2 separate regions of the Homo sapiens genome follow, and region 1 is linked to region 2. The links are contacts of gene promoters, found by promoter capture Hi-C in human tissues and cell types (Jung and others, 2019). All regions are on one chromosome and are shown on one strand. The core of a region is centred on a gene start or on the middle of the fragment in contact, and the rest is flanking DNA. Distances in the headings are between cores, read along the strand shown.

What was found. Contacts are between HindIII fragments. The study calls those that stand out against the background at their distance.
Region 1: a fragment that was not itself captured here is called in contact with the fragment with the promoter of KIF21B in region 2 in 2 of the 25 tissues and cell types used here (IMR-90 fibroblasts and lymphoblastoid cells).

The regions. Positions count from the first base shown.
Region 1 is chr1:200,548,877-200,555,618 of GRCh38, forward strand. It overlaps KIF14 (kinesin family member 14), which reads right to left. Exons shown (of 30, transcript NM_014875.3): 28 at 6,504-6,578; 29 at 5,592-5,730; 30 at 2,624-4,891. The coding sequence ends at 4,512. Among named protein-coding and RNA genes, the nearest start is that of KIF14, 69 kb to the right of the region's middle. The HindIII fragment of the contact is 5,068 bases long and covers 1-4,115 here.
Region 2 is chr1:201,019,099-201,026,387 of GRCh38, forward strand. KIF21B (kinesin family member 21B) reads right to left here and starts at 4,616. Exons shown (of 35, transcript NM_001252102.2): 1 at 4,245-4,616. The coding sequence starts at 4,285. LOC101929305 (a long non-coding RNA gene) reads left to right here and starts at 4,851. Exons shown (of 4, transcript NR_188464.1): 1 at 4,851-4,987; 2 at 6,406-6,521. RefSeq lists enhancers at 343-637, 743-842, 2,373-2,502, 2,811-3,418 and silencers at 1,993-2,142, 4,023-4,072, 4,473-4,832, 5,184-5,341. The HindIII fragment of the contact is 6,719 bases long and covers 2,784-7,289 here.

The DNA of each region.
Region 1 (6,742 bases), core at 332-2,831, 470 kb before region 2:
CGGCTCACTGCAACCTCTGCCTACCGGGTTCAAGTGATTCTCCTGCCTCAGCCTCCCGAGTAGCTGTGACTACAGGCGAAGCTAATTTTTGTGTTTTTTGGTAGAGTCAGGGTTTCACCATGTTGGCCAGGATGGTCTAGATCTCTTAGCCTCGTGATCCATCCATCTCAGCCTCCCAAAGTGCTGGGGTTATAGACGTGAGCCACCATTTTAAAAAGAGGGGGATGTAGGGCCATAGAAAGCGATATCCATTTTCCAAATTTCAGAGATTCTCCATCTTCTTAGTGGACAGCACAATCTGCTCTTCGTGAAAATGAGGCCCCCTAATGGGCAGATGCTCGCTCTTTAGACAAATTCAGAGGTTTTCACTGAATATTAGCCAGAGAAACGAAAGCCTGTGACTTACCACAAAATCGCTCTTAAATTCTTTTTTTTTTTTTTTTTTTGAGATGGAGTTTCACTCTTGTCGCCCAGGCTGGAGTGCAATGTGGCCATCTCAGCTCACTGCAACCTCCGCCTCCCGGGTTCAAGCGATTCTCTTGCCTACGCCTCCTGAGTAGCTGGGATTACAGGCGCGTGCCACCACGCTTGGTTAATTTTTGTATTTTTAGTAGAGACGGGGTTTCACCTTGTTGGTCAGGCTTGTCTCGAATTTCTGACCTCAGGTGATCCACCCACCCCCGGCCTCCTAAAGCGCTGGGATTACAGGCGTGAGCCACCGTGCTCGGCTAAATTCTTTAAAAAACCTATGATTCTCTGAGTTTAGGACCATTCAGCAACAGGAAATATGCAGTTTCCAGTTGCCATTTGCTTAATCAAAAGTTTACCCCTGAATTCTGTCTTGAATAAGTCAGCGATTCTCTGGTGGTTCTCCTGTATGTTCGAGTGTAGTGTGTGTTTTTTGTTTGGTTTTTTGTTTGTTTGACAGTCTCCCTTGGTCTCCCAGGCTGGAGTGCAGTGGCGCAATCTTGGCTCACTGCAACCTCTGCCTCCCAGGTTCAAGCAATTCTCATGCCTCAGCCTCCCGAATAGCTGGGATTATAGGCATGCACTGCCATGCCTGTTTATTATTGTTTTTTTTAGACAGAGTCTCGCTCTATCACCCAGGCTGGAGTACAGTGGCGTGATCTAGGCTCACTGCAACCTCTACCTCCTGGGTTCAAGCCATTCTCCTGCCTCAGCCTCCTGTGTAGCTAGGATTACAGGCGTGCCATGCGCCACCATGCCGGCTAACTTTTGTGTTTTTAATAGTGTTGGGGTTTCACCACGTTGGCCGGGCTGGTCTCAAATTCCTGGCCTCAAGTGATTCACCCTCCTCAGCCTCCCAAAGTGTTGGGATTACAGGCATAAGCCACTGCACCCGACTTGAGTTTAGTGTGTTTAGAGGTCTTTGGCATCGAGAAAATATAATGTTATGAACAACTGGGATCCAACAAGTTGGGCCTTTCAAAAGTCCATGAGGCAATCTAATCTTTTTCAGGTTGCTATGGCTTAACACCAACAGCATACCTAGCATTAAGTAAATAATTATTAGAATGAATGAATGAACCTAGCTATCAGATACTAAAACAAACTAAATGGCCATGCTCCACATCTAAAAATCCCATAAACTAATATTGGCTAAAGGAAGAAAGATGGAAAAGCTCAGTCTTGATTATATCATGCAATGACTGTAACTTGCAAAATCCAGAGCACAAACTTACCTGATGAATCATGCACAGGAAGCTGGGCACATAAGCTTTTTTTTAACTGAACCAAACTACTGATACCTTTTCCCCTCACCTGTGATTAATTCTTACTTTCCATATTTAGGGAAAACCTTGAAATGCTTATTGGCACATAGTTAGGCTCTGTAAACTCAAGTATGCTAGTTAGCTAACTAGACAAAACAGCCTTTTGCTAAAACTTTCAGATGGACTGACTCCATGGAGGACACATAGCACATTATACCTTAAGAGCAGTAAGATAATGTTTAGTTATCTTTATTGTCCATTTATTATCATGGAACAAAATGACGGCAGATATATTTTCAGGTATGCCATAAAGGACTGCAATACAATTTGGCACATTGGCAGAATGTTATAAATGGCATATGCCTGCACCAAGTGTGATCTTATATACATAACAAGGGTTTTGTAGCTGGTAATGAAAAGGACAGAAAATAAATTCACTAACAGTCTACTACTTGCCAGCAGTTATTCCCACATTTTTCTCACTAAGTGCTCATAGATAGATAGTCCATGAGGTGGGTATTACTTTTCTTTCTGCAGATGAAGGAATGGGAGTGAAGACAGTAACATGTCTAAGGTCATGTAGTTACTAAGCAGTCCAGCTGGGATTCACACTCCAAACGTGTGAAAAATATGTCAAACTCCAAAGCTCATGCTCTTTACACATACCACATGGTGATAAATCTATTCCAGGCATAATCAACTAAAGAGAGGCAGAACAATGTTAAAAAAAAATAGTTGTTATGGCAATATTAATATTTGTTTAGTGTTTCCTAATTATTAACTTGATTTGCAACACTAGCCTAGCTATTATCAAGGCAGAGCTATTCTGAATGAAGAGTAAAATAAACAAAGAAAATCAGTAAAATAAAAAAGCATAGACCACGAAGCAATTCTAATGCTGAAAAGATTTATTAAAGGCATTCTCTTTATAACATTTCTTGTCAGTGCACATAATTCCAATAGCAAATATTTTTTCACCATTCATTCAAATACAGTATCACAATGTGTTTAGTATAAATATGTATACAAAATTTTATAAAGACACTAAAAAGTTTCTGACCAATTAAGTCATGAGTTTACAAAGCACAAACTGAAGATTAAATACTGAATATTAAGATGAAAACTACTATACAGGTACTTTAGGAAGTTCTTCAAAGAAGTGCACCTCCCGGGAAATCCTCATATGTACATCTACACTCCAGCAAACTGCACAGGCAAAGTGCTACTTGCCAGATTATTGACTAATAAAAACACATATAGAGCTTCAGAAAGAATACAAGGTCAAATGCCAAAAATAAAAAAAGAAATGAAAGCAAATGTGCTACATTGTACCATTTTAAAGAGCTTGAAAACACCACACAAGGTTCACTAATACTGTTCTGACTGCAATGACTGTATTTACTTACAATCTCTTCCTAACAAGGAAACTATCAGATTTATTCATGGTACGAATGGCCAATTTCAACTAGTTATGCCAAATGTACAAGTAGTATCTGTAAATTCGAAAAGGGCAAATGAAAGGATCAGGTTATTTAAATGAATTCTTCTTTTTTTTTCTTCTTTTTTTTTAAATGAATTATTCTTTAGGAACTGCTCAATATCACCCAAGCATAGTTACAAAGTATCTCTTCAAATTATACATACTCTTGAGGTCAAAAACGTCAAACTATTTCCGTAATGTAAGATCCCACAAGTAGAATATTATCTTTATTACTTGATCATAAATAAAGGTTTTTTTTTAAAGCTGTGGAAAATAAGGGTCTTTAATCTTCATCAAATCATATACAAATTATTTCATTATACCTTTAACAAAACAAGCATTATCAAGAGAAGGTCCAGCCTCTGATCTCCTAATCTCATCCAACAGTTTAGTATAATTCTGGCAACATTTTATTAGTTTTAAATAATATTCATACAGCCCCCATTATGAAACACAGATAACAGGGTAAACTACTGTGCCAGCAAGCCATATTATTAATATATAATTATACTATATTTAGGTAGCTACTTATAATTTGGAAAGAAACAGGAAGCTACACCCTTGAACATACTATTCAAAATGGCAACCAGTTAACCCTTTGAGAAAAGAATTTTTGATTAACAATGCAAGTTAAGTTGTCTTAGTTAAACTTGTACAGGCCATTTCACCATAAACATCCCAGCTGTCTGAGGAGAGAGAAGGCATAGGCACAAAGGTAACTGATTGTTCAGGTTTCCACTCATGAGAAAATAACCCTTTATAAACGACTAATGAACCAACTACAGACAGTATACCAATGTTAAACACTTTAAAGATAAAAATATATTTTATTTATTTATTTATTTATTTATTTATTTATTTATTTATTTATTTTGACTAAGTCTCGTTCTGTTGCTCAGACTGGAGTAAAGTGGCATGATCTTGGCTCACTGCAACCTCTGCCTCTCAGGTTCAAGCGATCCTCCTGCCTCAGCCCCCCTAGTAGCTGGGATTACAGGCACGCGCCACCATGCCCAGCAAATTTTTGTATTTTTAGTAGAGACGGGGTTTCGCCATGTTGGCCAGGCCGGTCTCAAACTCCTGACCTTGTGATCTGCCCGCCTCCCAAAGTGCTGGGATTACAGGCGTGAGCCACTGTGTCTGGCCTTTGATAAATAGATATTTTAAAGATAAAAAGACATGGACTTTTTTGAAATATCTGTGCTGATTTCTCTTAAACTCTCCTGCATAAAGAAAATTACCGAGCAAGTGTTCTTTTTCTTTCATGGGTGGTCATAAAAGTGCCTACACATCAGTATTCACACCCACTGAATCCTACTGGGTGTGCATTCCTCTGAGCTCACTGCTGGGGATGAGCCATGGAGCTCATAGACACGCTTTGGTACACCTTTATTCTTACTGCCGTCAATCCCGCTTGATTTAGATTGTTGGTGTTCTTCTTTGGTATTTTGATTATAAGTTTCCCAGGGTTTCAACAAATCAGGGCTTTCTTCAGATTCAAAACAAAAGAGGAGAGACTTAGCTAGAGATTCTAGTTCCTGGTGGACAATGTGAGTTACTCTACTCTCATAGCTGCCAACAGAAGTAGAAGGCACACTGAAGTCACTGTAAAAATCACTGGCCAAGTTGCGAATACTTTCAACACAAGTCTGGAGAAGATTTATATCACTATGGCATCCTATATGCAAGAGAGGAGGGAAAAGTTAATTAGCCTTTTCAGTTTTCATCAGGTATTTATGACTTTTATAGACTCTAGATATCTTTTAAGTCAAAGTGACCCTATCAAAACAATTCCAAACTACTTAAGATTAGTCAACTAAAGTGTTTATTTGCTAGATGAGCACTTGGTTTTTCAGGATCTAATTATTTAGGTAGAAGTACTGATACATACATTAAGTGGGAATTTAATTATAAATACAAGTTCCTATATGGGTAACTAATATCAGTGAAGTAGCATTGGGTAGGCTTCAGTTAATGACTAAAATAATGAAAAGGTTAGAAATAAAAAGGAAAGATGTCAGCCGGGGACTGTGGCTCATGCCTGTAATCCCAGCACTTTGGGAGGCCAAGGTGGGTGAATTGTTTGAGGTCAGGAGTTCGAGACCAGCCTGGCCAACATGGTGAAACCCCATCTCTACTAAAAATACAAAAATTATCCAGGCATGGTGGCATATGCCTGTAATCCCAGCTACTTGGGAGGCTGAGGCAGGAGAATCGCTTGAACCCAGGAGTCGGAGGTTGCAGTGAGCTGAAATCGAGCCACTGCACTCCAGCCTGAGTGACAGAGCGAGACTCCATCTCAAAAAAAAAAAGGAAAGATGTCTAAGGTTCCTTAAAATATAAAATTCTGATTATAAACTCCATTTGGAGAATCATACCTTTCAGTGCAGAAATAATAATTTCAATAGCTTTCTCTAAGCAATGTTTTAACTTTAAGAATTCTGGAGCACGATTAACCATCCTCTTGAAATCTTGGTATTCAAAGTTTTCTTCTTGTACTTGCCTTCTGAAACTTTTCTGTATAAATAAAGTTAATATTTAAAATAATACATTAACAGGCTCAATGGCAGTAAGGCTCAGTCAATATGATTTTAATTGCCAGAATCTTCTCTTTAAGAAAGAGAGTTTAATTTCCTCACCAGTGCTTAACTCTATTTCTATAAGCAAGACCAAAATACAATAGTAATTACTGTTTTCAAAAGAAATCAGAATTTTCAATTAATTTTCAAAGTCTGTCATCCTATTACATGAGAATGGAATAAAGTAACAGTGCCATTTATTATTCAATACTTTAAAAGATACATTTATTTCATTTTTAAGAGCTCAACTTTATAATAGTTCTCATTTATTTAAATAAAAATTTTCAAGCCATAGCAATTACTCTCCTTTTTAACACATTGATCATATACTTAATTTTTCTCTTTACCTGTGACATGGGAATAATCTATCTAATTCAACTGTATTTTAAAATCTTTGAGCACAATGATTATTAAACACAATTTTTTAGCCTATAATGACCCATCCAAGCAAAAGCTGACAGTTATTAAACCAGTAGCAATAAGAAACAGACATATTAATAAATTTCTATACAATCCTTTATCCACTACTAGAACTAGTAAGTTATGACACACATAAAAAAGACAAAGAGCTATCTTACATGCTACAATTAGACATATACAAAAGAGTTGTCTCTGGCTAAGGATAAACACTGAAATAAAAATATCTACATTTGAACCAAGTGAAATGATAAAAAATAAGCAAAATTAAAATCAATTTAAAGCTTCTCTTACAATTTTCGATTCAGCAAAGATGTTTTCAAGAGATCTAATCAATCCCATGGCATTAGTTTTCATTTCTTTGGTAACCTATAGAGAATGTTAAAATATTTTATTATACTTTATTATTCAGAAGTACAAAAATCATAGAATTGCATGGGACCAGACTTTTAAAAAATTCTAGTCTAGAAGCCCAAAGATTGGAGCTCTATTTCTGGGATTGCAATTAAATAGCTTGAGAGTACTTAAATCAT
Region 2 (7,289 bases), core at 3,366-5,865:
TAATTTTTGTATTTTTAGTAGAGATGGAGCTTCACCATATTGGTCAGGCTGGTCTTGAACTCCTGACCTTGTGATCCACCTGCCTCAGCCTCCCAAAGTGCTGGGATCACAGTCATGAGCCACTGCGCCTGGCCTAGGACCCATTTTTTTTAAAAAAACATTTTATTTATATTCAATTCCTCAGGAATCTACTCTGCATTTTGTTCCCTCCAAAGATTTTATGTCCGTCTTCCTCCAAGCCACTGCTCTTCACAAATGAACAAACCAGAACACAGCAGTTCCCATTTTCCAGTGGGTAAAACTGAGGCCCACAAAAGACAAACAGGGAAGGTGCCCCATGACGAAGCCAGTGGATGAATTGCATCAGTTCCTGCCCTGCCCTTTGCCCCCAGGGTTGCAAAAATAAGCATGCCAGGCACATATCACCTCTGCCACCTCCCTGGCCCAGGCCTGGGCCCCGCCTCACCTCCACTTGGAGGTTTTCAAAAGCTGAGATCCAATCAGGCAGGCAGGCTGGGTGGTGGAGGGGGAGGTTTCCGGGGCCTGTGGTTACTACACTCCACTTCCTTATGATGACATAAACCCTATTTCTGCAGCAGGAGGCCACCACCAAGATTCTCAGGTCTCCACACAGCCCACATGAGGCCCTGTATGGGCCTCAGTTTCTGAGATCTGTAAACTGGACACAGGTGGCATTGATTGGCATTGACTGGCTTTGGGACTCGGAAGGCACCCCAAATACCCATTCCCCCACAGTTTCTTCTGTCTTCTTCAGTCTTTCTCTCCCAAGCCACCACTGCTCTTGGTTCAAAATTCAGACAGTCATTGACCAAGATTTCAGAGTAGCCTAGAACTAGGGAAATAACTGCAGCTAGAGAACCCAAATGGGAGAGGGCTGGGGTGCAATCTAACATTGTCCCTTGGGTCCCTTGGATCCCCCCCAAACCCCTACCTATCCCCTACTTAACCCTGTAGTATCAACAGATGGATGCTGGGCTGGCCAAGCACCGCCAAGCAGACTAAAGGAAGGAAGCTTAGGGAAGCCAGGCAGAGATAAGAGGGGAGGGGGCTAGGCAACACTGAGGTCTCCCCTCATGGTGGGGGCTCAGAGCTGGGGACTTGAAAGGGTCTTAAACAAATTTGCCATGTGACTTAGCTTCCTTCCCCAATTTCAACTTTGCCAACTTGCATTTCTTAACAGCTACCCCTTTCTCGCCCCATTTGTCAGGCCTATATCTCTGCAGCCTGGGGCAGGTCACAGCTCCGCCCCACCTCTCTCTAGCCTTGCTACACACCTCCTCCCCCAGGTGACTGCCAGTTCTAGTCCAGCCCAGGAAGCTGAGAATCTTTACAGTACAAGGGGATTAATGGATAAAGGGATCACAGGGCAGGCTGGAGAGGCCAGCCTGGGAATCCCTTGGTGCAAAGCCGACTAGCCTGGGTTCAGGGACAGATGGGCCAGATTCCATCTAGCTGGGGAGGCCACAAGGTGGGGCTTTTGGGGTCTGCTCACCCCTGAACTTTCTTCCCTTACCCTGAGCCCCAGGTCCTGAAAGTTTCCTCCTCCGGCTCTCCAGGAGCCCAGGCCTTCACTGAAGCGTTTCACAGCCAGCCAGCTTCGATCTCTTCATCCCAAACAGATTGCAGGGCCAAGAGCCTTAGGCCTGGCACTTCTCACCTAGTCTAATAGCCCTGGGACCTCTCTCCTCTACACACACACACACACACACACACACACACACACAATCAGACCACACCTGTCTCATTCCTGGCCTTCCCTGTCTGAAGAGCTGGACTCCAGGCTCGCTATGTTATTCTCATGGAAATTCAGAAGGCACTTCAGTTGGATTCAAGAAAGGACTTCCAGAAAGTCAGAAAGACAGCTGAACCTGGCAGGAGGTAGTGAGCCCTGGGGCTGGACTAGGCCCTGGACAAGCCTTGCCCTTCCCATAAATGGTCTACTGTAGTGCAGCCCACCACCCAGTCTTTCAGGTGAGAGAAGTGATTTCTGGGGGTGCTGCGGGGGAGGATGGGTAGAAGAGGATCTAAAAACAAGGAAAACTCCCCCTACAGCCCATCACTGGTACCATCTGCTCTCCTTCCCAGCCCAGCCCAGCCCCAGCTCAGTCCTAAGCTCTCTGATTAGAAACTGGGTTCTGTCCAGGCATTGTCTGCTGTACACGGCCGGCTGCCCATTGAGGTCTGGCGTGTGCCGGGGCTGGGCGCTCATGCTGGGGTGGGAGGGGAGGAGTGGGCGGGGCCCTTACCTTCCCGGAGACCCTGAAAGCCTGACTTCTGATGCTCAAATGCCCCACCCCCAATCCAGATCAGCAACTGAAAGGCAAGGCGTGGGGGCACCCAGACCCCACTTAGGGCAATCTGACTGGGAACCAGAGATGACACACATGGTCCTGAACTGGGTGCAGAGGGCAGGCATGATCCCTTCTCTGCAGAAAGGGTCCCGGGAAGCTTCTAGAGGTGGCAGTGGGAAGAGAACATCAGCTTCTCCTCACTGTGCCAATCCCATGAGGCTCCCCGGGTGGGAGTCCCACATCTTTTCAGCCCCAGTCCAGCCTGGAGACCTGAACAGAGGTAGGGGGCCTTTGTTTAGCTCTCTCCAGCAAGATGGAATCTAAAGGAAACCCCCTGTGGAAAGGGCACCCCCAAGCCCCTTCCTTCCCAGCCCTCATTCACAATGGGTGGGGGCCAGAGCTTCATTTCCCTTTTATGGTGTTCTCGGACTCTCCCAATCTGCTGCAGATGCCATATTTACATTTCTCACTCCCACCCCCCAGCCATGCACCCCTCCCTCGACCTCCACAAGATCCTGCTGCAATGTCAGCCCCAGCAGCAGCCTGGCCCCGCCCCAGTCAGCCCACCAGGCACCTGCAGGGCTCCTCTTTGTCTCTGGCTGCTCAGGGCCAGGAAAGCTGTGCTCAAGTGATTCTTGAGTGCTGCCTAGGGTGCATGGGTGGGGGTGCCTCAATCTCCTTCCCTTCACCCAAGCACTGATCAGTGTCAGCTCCTCTTTGGGCTGCAGAGGCCTGGCCAGGTGGCCGTGGCAAGGGGCATCTGCCCTGGGGCAGGAAGAAGAAAGCTTTTTCATTGCCATCTCTGACTCTGTCTAGGAGCAACCTCCTAGGACCCCTGGAATCTGGGTCACATATGACCCAAGGGATCTAGAGACCTGAGAGACCTACCCTAGACCTGGACAATCCCCCGCCCCCTCCATCATACAGGGCTGGGGCAGAGATAGATGTTCTTGCCACATCCCTACCTTGGTGAGCAGCTCCAGATTGGCACTCTGCCGCCAAGACACCCCTCTCAAAGAGAAAAACCCAAAGCAAAAACTGGGAGAAGTGGTGAGGTGTGAAGCATCTCCACCCAGCACAAAGAACACAGATGGCTCAATTTCACAGCATTTCCTGCTCCTGCACCTTTGTGTACCCCTCCCAATAGAACCCACCCAGCCATGTCCTCTCCCTGTCTCATTTCTGCCGGCTCAAGTCCCGGAGCTGTTGAGAATGGAACCCCAGATAAGTCTAGGCAACCCTCCCCTGCTCAATTTTATCTGAGTGCCTGAGGATGGGGCATCTGCATCACACCCTCCTGCCCTCTCAGAGAGAAGCACCTCAGATACACCTCTTCCTCCCTTCCTAGGCCCATCTCCTCTTGGGACAGGACTGGTAGGATTCTCCCCCAAAGCCATTGACTTCCCACAGAAGGCCAAGGCATCATCCCAGCTTTTCCGTTGGTCCCCGCACCCGATCTTTGTCTGCAGATCTGGCTCCCAGGGTGGGTGTGCTGCCTTTGCTAGCTGGACCAAGAGCACATAACTAGCTGACTCGCATGGATGAGGGGAAATTTCCCTCTCTGGTATCCCCGTATGAGACAGCAGCCTCGTGGGGAGGCGAAGAGGAAACGCACAGACGCTCCGGCCTGGGCCAGAGCTGGGTGTGAAATACCGGATTTCCTTGTTTATTCGATTTTCTGATCATTAAGGGCTCCCAAGAGGGGCCCAAAATTACCACCCAAACAAAGCCACCTTCCAGTAGTCGGCGGGGTCGCCGCTCCCCTGCGGCAGACTGGCCAGCGCGCGGCGCCCTCCATCCCGTCCCACGCCGGCCCCTCCTCCGGGAGTGCAGGCTCCAGCCCAAGCGGTGCTCGCGCCCCCCGCCCAAAGCCCACGCGAGACAAAGCCCGAGGCTTCTCCGCGCGCCCCCTTCCCCGCCCCGGGTCCCTACCTGACGGCCACCTTGACGCAGCAGTCCCCCTGGCCGGCCATGGCCCTCTGGAGCTAGGGTCTGGGCGTGGATCAGAGGCGGGGGTCTGGGGGCCAATGCCCGAGGCAGCGGCTGCGGCTGCGGGAGGCGGGGGCGCGGGCGCGGCTGGCGGAGGCTGCGGCGGCGGCGGCTGGAGGTGACATGCTCGCGGGCGGCAGGCCGAGGGGCTCACCCGCGGCCGGCCCCCCGGGGCTGGGCCCGCGCGCCTCCTCGCGCCATCGGGCGGCGGCGCGGAGCTAGCTGACAGCCGGCGGCGCGACCCGCCGCTCCCTACGGCGCGGCACACGCGCACACACCTCCCACCCGGCAGCCACCTCCCGCCGCAGCGCGAACAAAGGGGGCGGGGGCCGATCCGGCCCCGAGCCCGCCCCGAGCCAGCCCCGAGCCCAGGCCGGGCCCCGCCCCGCCCAGGAGCCGCCAATCGAAAGCCCTAATGAGCAGTGGGGGCGGGACTCGCGCCTTTAAAGGGACCTCTTGGCTCGCGGCCACGGGGTGGCTGGGGGTAGGGGGCGGGATTGAAGGGTGGGGGTGGGGGTAGGGGTGGGAGTAGGGGTGGGGGCGCTGGACGCAGACCACGTTAGAACCTCGGCTCCTGGAGTAGCAGAACCTCGGCTTCAATGGGACCCTCATTTCATAAATGAAGAAACTGAGATTCAAAGAGGGGAACTACCGAAGGTTACAGAGCGAGTTCGTGGGTAAGCATGGTAAGAACCCTGGTCTCCCGGGGATCCCACAGCGATTGACGGTTTATAGTTCAAAAGAGCCAGGAAAGCTTCCCTTCTGCATTTATTCCAGTAAATTCGCCAACCCTTCTCGAAGGGAGTTCTTGCTAGCCCCTAACTAAAATTTCCCCCACCTCCACCCTGCAGCATCTTAAAGCTCATGTTTTAGTTGATTCCTGGCCAGGCTCCTAGCCCAAGACTAGCCCCTCCCTACTGCTAGACGACTGTCCCATTGACCTTTATGACCCACAGATGACCCCACTGGGCCTGGCTCACACTCTGCTTGTTGTGGCTGTGGGGCCAGAGGGTCAGTGTGGGAGGCCTGAGCTGCCCTGGGGGAAAGGAGGGAACAAAGGGGGCCCTCAGTTCCGAGCACCTGGGTAGAGAGGCTGGGCGGTGAAGTGGGTGGGGAAGGGAAGGAGGGCAGCTGCCTGCAGGAATGGGTATAAAGGACAAGGAGGACCATGGAGACTTTAACGCTGGGCCTGGATGGAGGAGGAGACCAGTGCTGCAAAGTCACAATTCCCTTCCCAGTCCATCTCCCTCCCTCTGAGCCCAGACGCCTCTTCCCTGCCCCCTGCCTCCCAACATTGGGGCCATTCACAGGGCCCCTCACCAGCTGCCCTCACTTCACCCAGCTCCCTCCCCTGGAAAGGGCCCAAGAGGAGGACCCAGCTGCAGCCCCAGATGTGGATGGGGATCTCTGGGGGAGGGGAGGAAGGGGAGTCTGACTCCAGGCCTCTTACATTACCCTCAGATGATGAAACCATGTCAGAGATTTTGGCAAGGGTGTGGACTGGGGTCTGAGGATGCATCTGTTGGTACCATCTTCCTCCCCTTCCCTCCTCCACTCACACCCCCCTCCCCGCCAATAACTGCTTCATGCAGTAGCTCAGATCCCTGTTTGGCTTGACCTATTAAGGTCAAATCAAAACCAAAGATAATTTCAAGGGCAAATTTCAAGGGCCAATCAACACATCCTTTTCATCCCCATGGCAAACAGGAGGAGCACCGCCAGCAGTGCCCCCATGATGGGGGCTGGAGAAGAGGTCTTGGTGGTATCCTGGACCTTTTATTAGCATTTGAATCTAGAGGAAGCTCTCCCTGGGGCCAGGGGATCACCTCTCCTGGACCAGGAGGTTAGCAGAATGTTGCAGTCATATCCTGCAACATTCCTCCCCATCTTCCAACCAAAATAATTCGTGGGGAGGAGACTAACACATATGGACCACCTACACAAGGTATTTTATGCACATATTCTCATTTTTTCCCTATAACCTTGTAAGCTAGGCTTTTTTATTCTTTTTAAATTTTGCAGATGGGGAAACTGAGCCTCACATGTATGAATTCCAGCATATAAGCAACAGACTCCAGATTTGGACATGTATATCTTATTCCAGGCTTCCCAGATGACCACCAAGGTGGAAGGGATGATGATGTCCAGGCAGAAGGGAGCTAGGCCGGCCCAGGCTTTTCCTCTAGGCACAGCGGACTCCAGGTTCAGCCTTCCCGGATGGTAATGTTGCATTCTGAAGAGCTACTTTCCCGCCAACTCATCTCTGGACTTCTCTGGGGCCCAACTCTGGTTTCCTGCCTGCAGGAGGTCCCCTCTGACTTCCGACAGTAGATGACCCTTCTGACTCACAGTTCTACTGCTGGGAAATGCCTCCAGAGCTGCTGCCCACCCTCTCTGCATCCCTCCAGGTCACTGGGTGTTGAGTCAGGGGAAGCAGGGATACACACGGGCGGGAAACTCAGGTCTCCTAAATGTCAGAGCCTCAGGACTTCGGCTACTCAGAAGTAGCTCCCTCCTGGGCCACCAGGGAGCAGCAGGGCAGCCAGCATCCAGACATCCCCCCTGGGTTCTGCTGCTCAGAGGCTAGATGGAGAACCAAGGTGGGAAAAAGGCTTAAACCACAGCGTGGGGAGATTTAGGTTAGATGGGTCAGAGGAAGTTTAGGACAAGCCTTGCCCTTTTCAGTTTCTGTCCAGCTTCAGCACAGCCACTGCTTCCTCTCTTTGGTTTTTACCCATCCCCCTCTCTCCCATCACCTCTATCCCCTTCCAGCTTTCCTTTCCTTCCCTCCTTCCCAAACCCCAGAGTTTCTCAGGATTAGCTGCCCGTGTGCCTATCTCCCCCACCCCCATGCTTTCCTCACTGTCTCACAGAAACAGGCAAACACACACACATGCATACAACCATGAGCTGGCCCTGAGAGTTCTCTGACTGGACTGGGGTTGGAGCCCCAGCTCTTGTCCTGAGCTGAGGCCCTTCCCCCAGGTA